2 separate regions of the Homo sapiens genome follow, and region 1 is linked to region 2. Evidence: promoter capture Hi-C in human tissues and cell types (Jung and others, 2019). All regions are on one chromosome and are shown on one strand. The core of a region is centred on a gene start or on the middle of the fragment in contact, and the rest is flanking DNA. Distances in the headings are between cores, read along the strand shown. Region 1 overlaps COL25A1 (collagen type XXV alpha 1 chain). Region 2 holds the start of COL25A1 (collagen type XXV alpha 1 chain).

The links. Contacts are between HindIII fragments. The study calls those that stand out against the background at their distance.
Region 1: a contact is called between a fragment that was not itself captured here and the fragment with the promoter of COL25A1 in region 2, in 1 of the 25 tissues and cell types used here (H1 embryonic stem cells).

Annotation. Positions count from the first base shown.
Region 1 is chr4:109,243,835-109,248,711 of GRCh38, forward strand. The region is part of intron 3 of COL25A1 (collagen type XXV alpha 1 chain); the gene reads right to left. Among named protein-coding and RNA genes, the nearest start is that of COL25A1, 56 kb to the right of the region's middle. The HindIII fragment of the contact is 4,025 bases long and covers 521-4,545 here.
Region 2 is chr4:109,300,165-109,304,855 of GRCh38, forward strand. COL25A1 (collagen type XXV alpha 1 chain) reads right to left here and starts at 2,494. Exons shown (of 38, transcript NM_198721.4): 1 at 2,005-2,494; 2 at 1,559-1,911; 3 at 419-488. The coding sequence starts at 1,855. It overlaps COL25A1-DT (COL25A1 divergent transcript), which reads left to right and starts at 2,871. Exons shown (of 3, transcript NR_160939.1): 1 at 2,871-3,163. RefSeq lists an enhancer at 2,566-3,348. The HindIII fragment of the contact is 11,543 bases long and covers 1-4,691 here.

The sequences.
Region 1 (4,877 bases), core at 1,283-3,782, 56 kb before region 2:
GTCAGAGGATAAATTCTTTCATTGTCCCTTCTATACCTATAAAATCTATGTTTTTTGAGTGAGTTTCTCTTGCATCTGTTGAGCATGTAGAATTACTTGTCTCAGAAAGTACTGAAGGCAGTGAAGTTAACCATTAAAGATTAAAACAGTCTAGTAGATAAAGGTTCTTTTCTACATAGAGGATTCTCAGACCTACACAAAGCAGCTCTAGACTACAGTAAACCCCTACTTTTGTTGATCTCACAGTCATACACAAACACTGTCCTCTTTATCTATCCCGGAAGAAGTAAAGAGAAATAGAAAGAAAGAAAAAAAAAAAAGCATGGTTTTTTTCATCATGAAAAACAGCTGAAAAACAGGCATTGAATTCCCTAAGTCGAGGTAAACCGAATTCCCTAAGTCATGCACAATAGAAAAACAGTGTCTACACTGTGAATTATCTTTTTCCACTTTCCAATATTTTAGTATCCATTGACATACTAAAAAAAGCAGGATGATAATATCCTTAAATTCACAGACTATATCAAAAAAAGTGTCACTTTGTAGGCCTTCCTATGATTATGCTTCATTTAAAAGTACTCACAAGATCCCACTCTTCCCCTTCTATTACAGTAATTTGCAACAATTTTAAGCAACTTTGCAAAGTGAATAAAAAGGAGTTGAAGCATCTGCAATTCAAGGCATTTAAGTTTTAATTCACAAACTGCAGCCCTGAGAATAATTATGAGGGCCTAGTTATTTTCTGCTATGCTGCACATGAAAGGCAACCGATCACTTTTTAAAAAAATACCCAAGATGCAGTATTTTTAGAATTGTTATCATTCTTCACTTGAGTGATTCAATAACAGCAGAACTTGCACTGCAGTCCCCAAAAGAGCTTACATAACTAAACATATACAATCACAGAGGTTTAAAATTAAGTGTCTGGGTAGTGCGTTGCCTCACAGAATATTTGATGAAGGGCATGAAGCAAATCTTTTAAAATTTGCTTCCCAGAAACTCTTAATACTATGATAATATAGTGCCCAATAAATATGTGGATCTCTAGAAAAATATTTTGTGTCTTGATACCTTTATATTTATATTTTTATAATCTCTATTCAAATAGCCATAAACTAAAAGTCACTTAATACACTGGATAACTTTAAAAATCTGATTTTTAAAAGTAAACCTCCAACTTTCTCAATATGGCACTATAATTGACACAGTTAAGACAAAATTTAAGAGTTCAGCTTCTGTCATAACTTAGGAAGGGTTTAAGTGACCATATTATATACTTTATTATCTAGACCTAGATACCTTGAGAGTAAAGGAGGCCCTATTGATAATTATACCAGAATAATAAGCAAAAAACCCCAGAACTTTCCTAGGCAAACCTAGAAAATATGAACATCCTTATCATAGACCAATATGGTCCAGTTTGTTATAGCCAAATATAGGAATCTGCAAGGTCTCCAGGAACTTGGTCCTCTGGGTTGGGACTGGTATACAGGAGGTAATTAACTGGTATGAAGGTGCAGAAAGGAAGTTTATTTTGGAAGTCAAAGCATCTATCAAAAGGCCACTCCGGAGAAGTCGGCAATGGTGGAAGCCAAACTTGAAATAACAAAGGTATCCTATCATATGTGTGGAGCATGGTGATGACAGAATAAAATGCAGGAACATTTCAGAGTACCAGACAAGCAGGGAAAGAATCAGTAAGCCCTTAGAATTAAAGGGCTGAATCTAATCATCCAATCACCTATAACCATTATATGAATACCTGCTATGAACCAAAGTCTACCTTAAGCTTGGGTTCATGAGTACAGCGGCAGCTACCAACACAGGGTATCAGCTAAAAACAAACAGATGATTGTTTACAAAAACTACAGCACAACGTAAGGATTAAATCTGAAAGAAAAAGACAGAAGTCCTATGTCAAGAATCATGGAACAGGAATAGGACAGAGCTTCAGTTAATACAACTATACCCCAAAGGTAGCAGCAAAAAAACAACTCAATGATTAAAGACAGGCAAGTTCACACCACATGATAGGGATTTGTCCCAGGGATCAGGATCAGGGTTAGGCCGGCTGATGGAAGACCAGGGGCCCTTGCCCATGGGTAGGAGAGATATGCAGAGGCCAGGCCTGAAAACTAGTTTTTCAGTAGAGGAACCTCTAGTTGCTTTTTTGTTAAAAAGCAAAAAAAAAAAAAAAAAAAATTTAAAAAACATAAACAATACACAAAATGAAAACATTAACAGCAATAAGGGTACCTAAAGTAGGAAAAAAGACTTAAGCATGAAAATAGATACTATCATAGCAGATACTTCAAATTCCTAAGGCTGCTCAGATACAAGAGTTTAAAACAATGACGATTATAATGATTAATATTCAAATTGTCCTCAAGGTATTACATGTAAGTGCCAATATCTTAATATAAAATTAAGCAGAGATATAAAATGCAAATGACAAATCTATACAGTAAGCTGGTAGAGCTAGAAAACTACTAGTTCTAGCAGTAAACAAATAAAGTAAAAGTAAGCTCTAGAGACTACATCATTTTCATCTATATCAATGAAATTCTGACCTTGGATAGTCAAACAGGGTAAAGACAGTAAATGGTATTCTAATTGATGAGTGAGTACTCCACCAATTCTCAAGGAATTCTTGTTTTCTCAAAAGTGATTTGATATTTTACTGTATCAACTTTCCTATCAAGTTTATGATAATTAGTACATCTATATCTTTATCTATAAATTTAAAAAAATCTGAATAGGCATTCAACAAATCTTAAAATTTTATAAATATTTTAGAATTAAATTGTATTCCAATTTAATTATTCTAAAAAATTGACTCTACTATGATCATTTTTTTCCTGTATATGATTCTATTCTCTTTTTCTTACCTATTCTGTGTTAAACTTCTTCATTAATTTATTTATCTACTTTATAAACTTGTTAAATCATTAAGGAGGAGGCCTCTGTTCTAGGGTTTGTAAGGGACACAAGGATGAAACCAAACATGAGTCCTATCTTCAAGCTTACGTGGAAAATGCACAAAATATGCCCTGGAATGCAAGGTAGGTTCAGAAGATGAACAAATTATTTCTATATAGGAAACTTACATCTGAACTGGGATTTAAAAGGGGAATAATATAATAAAAGACCTAAAACAAAAAGGCTTGATGTTTGTGCATTTAAGAAATTTAAAGTGTTCCAGATCAGCTGGAACATAGAAAAAGGAAGTAAAGAAAGATAAGCTTGAGGCTGGGTGTGGTGGTTCATGCCTGTAATCCCAGCACTTTGGGAGGCCGAGGCGGGTGGATCACCTGAGGTCAGGAGTTCAAGACCAGCCTGGCCAACATGGTAAAACCCCATCTCCACCAAATTAGCCTGGTGTGGTTCTGTAATCTGAGCTACTCAGGAAGCTGAGTGAAGCAGGAGAATGGCTTGAACCCAGGAGGGGGAGTTTGCAGTGAGCAGAGATCGAACCACTGCACTCCAGCCTGGGCGACAGAGCAAGACTGAAAAAAAAAGGAAAGGAGGGAGGGAGGATTGAAAATGTGGAAATGAGCCCATCGTGGAAGGCTTGAATGTCAGGTAAGGAAAAGTGAAAGAAAAGAAGCCAGTTAATGCTTTTATGTAGCAAAACAGCAATTAAGACCAGCTCAAACTATTAGACAAGCCTACAGTCACTTGGGCCTGAATTAGGGAACATGTAATATTGCTTACGTACAATGCAAGGGCTTTAAAACCAATGAATGTTAGAATCATAGGAAAGGAAGACCTGGAAGAAGTTAATACTGAAAAAACAGTAAATAGATAGATAGAGGAGGAGCATATTTAGCAGATGAAGTCAGTCTTGAACATGCTAGGTGGGAAGTAAAACTAAGGCATTCTACATGGGATAACCACCAGGTAGTTAAAAACATGTGTCTTCAACTCAAAAGATCAAAACCTAAAGTAAAGATTTGAGATTCACCAGAACAGATGACACCAAGAGGAAGAATACAGAAACATAAGAGACAAGATCCAAGTAAAACATCAAAGGATGCTTTTAGCCAGCAAAGGCAAGAAACGGGTCAAGAAGGGAGAGAGATAACAGAAAGAAGAGAATCAAGAGAGCTTACTGTCATGAAAGTCAAGGGAAAGTAAGTTCACGGAAGGAGGTATAGTCAACAGAGTCAATTGCTAAAAGAGTTGAAAAGACCTGAGAAAAACCCGTATTGTCCCACAGTCAAGATAATATATGAGAATATTTTACCTTCTACGCATGCCTATATAATGTATTGCTATATAATGTAAATATATATGTATATTTACATATATATAAATGTATTGCTACGATTATAACTACTATTATTCTCTAGTCCTTAGCCAGGGTAATTTGAAACCTTTTATTCTTCACCTAGCTTATTCAGAATTATGAGTATTCAATAGAATTAATATTTCCTTTTTTAGACTCTCAAACTTTTCATCAATAAATATGCATATATTCAACTATGGTAAAGATTTATTTTACTAACAAGTGTGTCCAGAATATATCTTGATCCTAGAAGGAGGCTGAAATCTTCACTGGTTATCAGGGCAATTGTGTTGATGAAGTCCCCTGTTCCAGCCACCCATTCAACTGGCAGCAGTGAAGACAAGGAATCCAGAGCGACATTGTACTCAGCTCCATACTCTGCTTGCCTCCGCTGACACAGCATTTCAGAAGTATCCCACACAAAAAGAATCAGCATCTTCCTATTTTCATAAATGGCATGAAAATAAGCATCCATCTATCTCCACCCATGCCATGCAGTAAAGCCAAGCCAAAGCACTAGTACTTCGCAGCTGCCAGACTACTCCTCCTCTCATGCCCTGCAGGGGATCAAGTTTGTCAGACATCAGTC
Region 2 (4,691 bases), core at 1,244-3,743:
AGGGAATAAACCAAAACAAAAAAAAAAAAAAACTCTGCACTAACACAATAAGAGCGAGCCAGGAATTCAGAATCTAACAGTTCTACAGTCCTTTTCACTGTAGACATTAAGACAATTTAATTGAAGAATATTTTTCAATCTGTGAATCTAAGAAGTTTGTCCTTGTACATCACCTTGCCTATATTTTCTTTGGTGATTATATCCTTTGCTTTCCCATAACAGGCCTTGGTATGCTGCTTAAAATAATATTTGGGGCTTTATTTGCCATCCTTTTGAATGAGACATGTTGATTTTATTAAAGCAAGTTGGGTCTGCATTCTTTCTTTACTATTATTACAGGTAGACTTGACAGACACAGGACCTTTGTTTTAAAATGCTCTGCTCTGGAGGAAACCTTGTTAAATAAGTTCCATTTTACCTGCTGGGCAGTTACATTCTGAAGGTGCTTCTCTTGCGATTCTTATTTTAGCCATATGTTCATAGGATTTCTGTAGGAAAAGAAGAGTTATTAATAATCATCAGTAGCACTGTAGAGGGATGGAGTCTTTAGGGACTCTGGCCATACGCCTGATTTACCGGCATTTCATAACCTGCATAACTAACATTTACATATGTACTTGGACTCTAGTCAAGAAAGTAACCATGCCTAAGTCCTAAAAAAAGAAAATGACCACTGATAGGGTATCAAGATTGCTGGACTTGTATAACATCTTTCTCCATTCTTCTCTACCACCACTCTCTCCCTCAGCTCAAGCATATGCAGTCAATGTAAAAACCTAGCACTAAAATGTTGCAGTATTAGGTAAGCTGTGGCTTACCAATAACAGCCAATATTTTATACATGAAGGTCAACTGCTTTATTTATCATGCTAGGCTGCAACTACTGCCAAATAGGCTCCCGGCTAGGGTAAGGTTCCAGAAAACCCCCTTACTCTAGTCTAAAGGTACCCTTACACATAACATAGATTCCTCTCAACTCTCAATTCCAAGGGCTCTGCATTCATAAATACCCCGGCACTGCATCCTTTACCAAAAATAAAGCTACTTTAAAAAAAAAAAGTTTAAACTTTTAATATGAAAAGATTCAACGTGTGAAATTATTGATTTTAAATTATATATGACATTATTTTACATTTAAGAGTGATTACCTTTTTTATATATTAATAACATCTATGACCCTAACCATCTTACAACATGTAAAAGATTTAACAGATGCTATCTCTGCAAGAAATATTCTCTCCACAATTGGGTTTGACTTAGGACAACTAAAAAGAGATAAAATGCCCTTTCCGAACCCTTTTAGACCTTCCTATGTGTTTAACACGCAAACATTAAGAGAGAGTGAGGGAAGATTAGAGATAGGGATGGGGACATCAAGGGATGTGCACATATAAATATATGCTACAGTGAGCATAGATCCTTGGCCAACACATGCACGCGCGCGCACACACACAGCCACACCAAGTATGGGTACAGTAAGGGTAGCGGCTAGTCATGCACACAGAGTCACGCTTGTACAAGATGTTACCCACGTGCAAAATACCCCAGCCTCTCACACCTGAGCCAGAAGTCGCTCCACTTTCTCTTGCACCATAGTCTTGAGGTGATCCAGGGTATCAGGCAGCAGATGAATGGAAGGGGCCCCTTTGGCGGATTCGAGAGCGGCGATCCTCGCCTGGAGGTCGTTGGTTTTCACACCCAGGTACAGGCAAGACACCACGGCCACCACTGACAGGAGGGCCGCCAGGACGGCACACGGGGGCATGGTCCGGGCACAATGCTGTTCGGCAGGGGTCGGGTCCTCGGATCTGGGCTCCCGGCCCCCTCCTTTCCCTGCGTGCTTCTTCAGCAGCATCGTGGCGGGGTCGGCCGTCTCGGCTTCGCTTCCCACCCTCTACACCTCAAATAATCCTAAAAGGAAAGAAAAAGGTCGATTCCTCCAAAGTTCAGTCCCTGTGGCTGCACAACTAGTTGGTGGAGTCAAGCCCACGAGCGGATACGGACCCCTGCCTTGCTCAGCGTCCAGACCCGCAGGCGTGCACCATCCCCGCTTTCTTCTCTCCTCCCAGCTGGAAGTGAAAAGCACCCTCCGTCCGGGGACTGGGTGGCGGTGGGGTAAAAAGCAAGACGAAACCCACCCAGACAGCTCTTCCGACTCCCAGAGGACCGACACCTCTTTCGAGGGCCCCAACAGTGGCCGCTCAGGGTCCGAGGGCAACGGCCGAGGCGCCACGCGGGGCCGCGGCTCGCCCTGGCCACGGAGGACCGGACCTGTTGCGCCTCTGTGAGTTTGCCTTATTTCTACCTACTCGGTGTCTTTCGGCACGCCGACCTGTTTCCCACCTGCATTCAGTTCAAGGCAAAAAGGCTGTGAGAGCACGCTACAGCGCAGCGCGAAAGGGGCGACTAAGGTGGAGAAGAGAGAGGAAAACGAAATAAACCCAAGGAACCAATGCTACTCGCGAAGCCGAAGTCGCGGCTGCCCGAAGGATCTCCGCAGCCCCGCGTGCGCGATCCTTAAATACCCTTCGCGATGCTCGCGTGAGTGTGTGTGTGAGTGTGTGAGTGCGCGCGCGCTCCGAGCACGACGTCCCTCCCCCGACCCCCTCCCGGCGCCCGGCGTCCGGCCTGCCGCTCCCGCTGCTGCGCGCCCCCCTTCCGAAGGCAAAGCAGGAGCCCGCCTTATTATCATAATGTATTCACCTTGGCCCAGCCCGCGGGCCGGCCCGGGGAACCCCCAAGGGAGGCGGGAAGCTTGGGTGGGAGCGGGGCAGGAGGTCTGTTATTAGCATAATGTATGCAAATAGCTGGAGCGGCCACCGTGATTGGAGAGGAGCCTGGCGACCCCTCCCCCTGCGCGGAGTAACTTCAGCATCTCCGAGGGCCACCTCTCTGGCCTGGGCCGGGGCCGAAGCGGGGTCGGCTGCGCAAGAGGCGGCAACTTTGGCTTATACTGACTCAGCCCAGCGCCCCCTTTTTATCCCACATAAAAATGGAGAAATGGCCTCCGGGAGGAAGATGTGAAGCGGCACGCTCTATCTCTACTGATCTTCACTCAAAAGCAGCCGCAGGAGCTGTTGCTATCTCGCTGTGGTGCAGCGCTTTTCCCTCCTCCCTCACTTTCCCACATGCCCAGAGGCAAAGTGTCTGGCCGACGTCTGAGGTACATTTCCCCACTTCCCTTCTCTTCCCACTGCAGCCCTCAGATTGTCCAACGAGGGGAAGTTTTCCTTCCCCTCCCCCAGTTTCCTTGTCTTGACGGCACTGAGTCTCCTCCCAGCTCTGTATTCCTAGTCTGTACTAGGGTGCTAATGTGTTTTCCTGATTCCCTGTTTTGCGGGATTGGAAAAGGGAGTGTTGAGGTATACACATTTCTCAGGATTTAGGAAAGGAATGAAGAATGAAGTCAGTTTTTCCTTTTACCTGACTCTTAATGCTGTTCTCTCTGGATCAAATTACAAGGTCTCTAATGGGATTTTGGAAAGTTGGTAACAAGTAGCATTTGACATCTAATTGACTTTGGGGAAAACAGAAATCCCACCTCTTATTCCAAAGAGTTCCTTCTTATCTCCCTATAAAAAAAAAAACCATATATTTTTCCTATTCTCCTTAATTAAGCTAACCTGAAGTCGTTGCTTACTATTGTAAACAGTCAACAAAATACTTCACTAAGTTGGTCTTTCACATGTGTAAACGGATATTGCTAGGTGTGAAGCAAGGTAAGGAAATAACAGCATTAGAGGAAGAAAGAGACTAACATTGGAGGAAAACTCAATGAATTTGGCTATAAAGTCAAAACCATAATTCATTTGTATTACACAGTGGTTCTCAAAGGATGGTCCTAGACCAATAACATCAGCATCACCTGAGAACTTGGACATTAAAATTCTAGGTTCCTACCACAGATCTGAATCAGAAACTGCTACTACCACTACTGAAATAATAATTTTAAAAAAAACAGCAATCTGTGTTTTAACAAGCCCTCCAAATGATTTTGATATATACTACTAAAGTTTGAGAACCACTGGTATAATACTTTCCAAAATATTTTCAAATACTTTTTGTATTTGAACCTCATAACCCTGCGATGTGAGGATTTACTGTTCCTCTTTTAAATATAAACAACGTTTTTAAATAAATTTTAAAACAGATAAATTTCAAGTCACATTTAATTGTGATTAAACATGTTTCCAATAACAGGACCCAAATAATGGGTACAAATATTTTAATGTACAAACTCTTTCTGTAACCTCTAGCTGTTCCTTAGTCTCATTTGCAGGCTTTTCCTCTTTCATTTCTCTGAAAGTTGGTGCTCCTTGGGTCTCTGTCTATTCCATCTTCTCTGTATACTCTCTCCAGTAGAGTTCCCATTACACTGATGAGTCATAAATTCATATCAAAAGCCCAAACCTCTCTCCTGAACCTCAGATCCATATAGCCAGTTGCCTCTTTGTCATCTCCGTTTGGATGTCTCACTCTCATTTCCAATGTAACCTGCAGCTTACCTCCAAATTCTGTCTGCTTCCTCTGTTTCCCATCTCAGCCAATGGAGTTGCCATCCATCCAGTCTCCCCAAGCCAAAATACCCAGTTGCCGGCCCTGACTTCTCCCTTGCCCTCCTCTCCTCATCTATTTAGAGTCCTTCAATAATTCTGGTTGTCCTTAGGACAAAGATCTTACATCTTTCAACC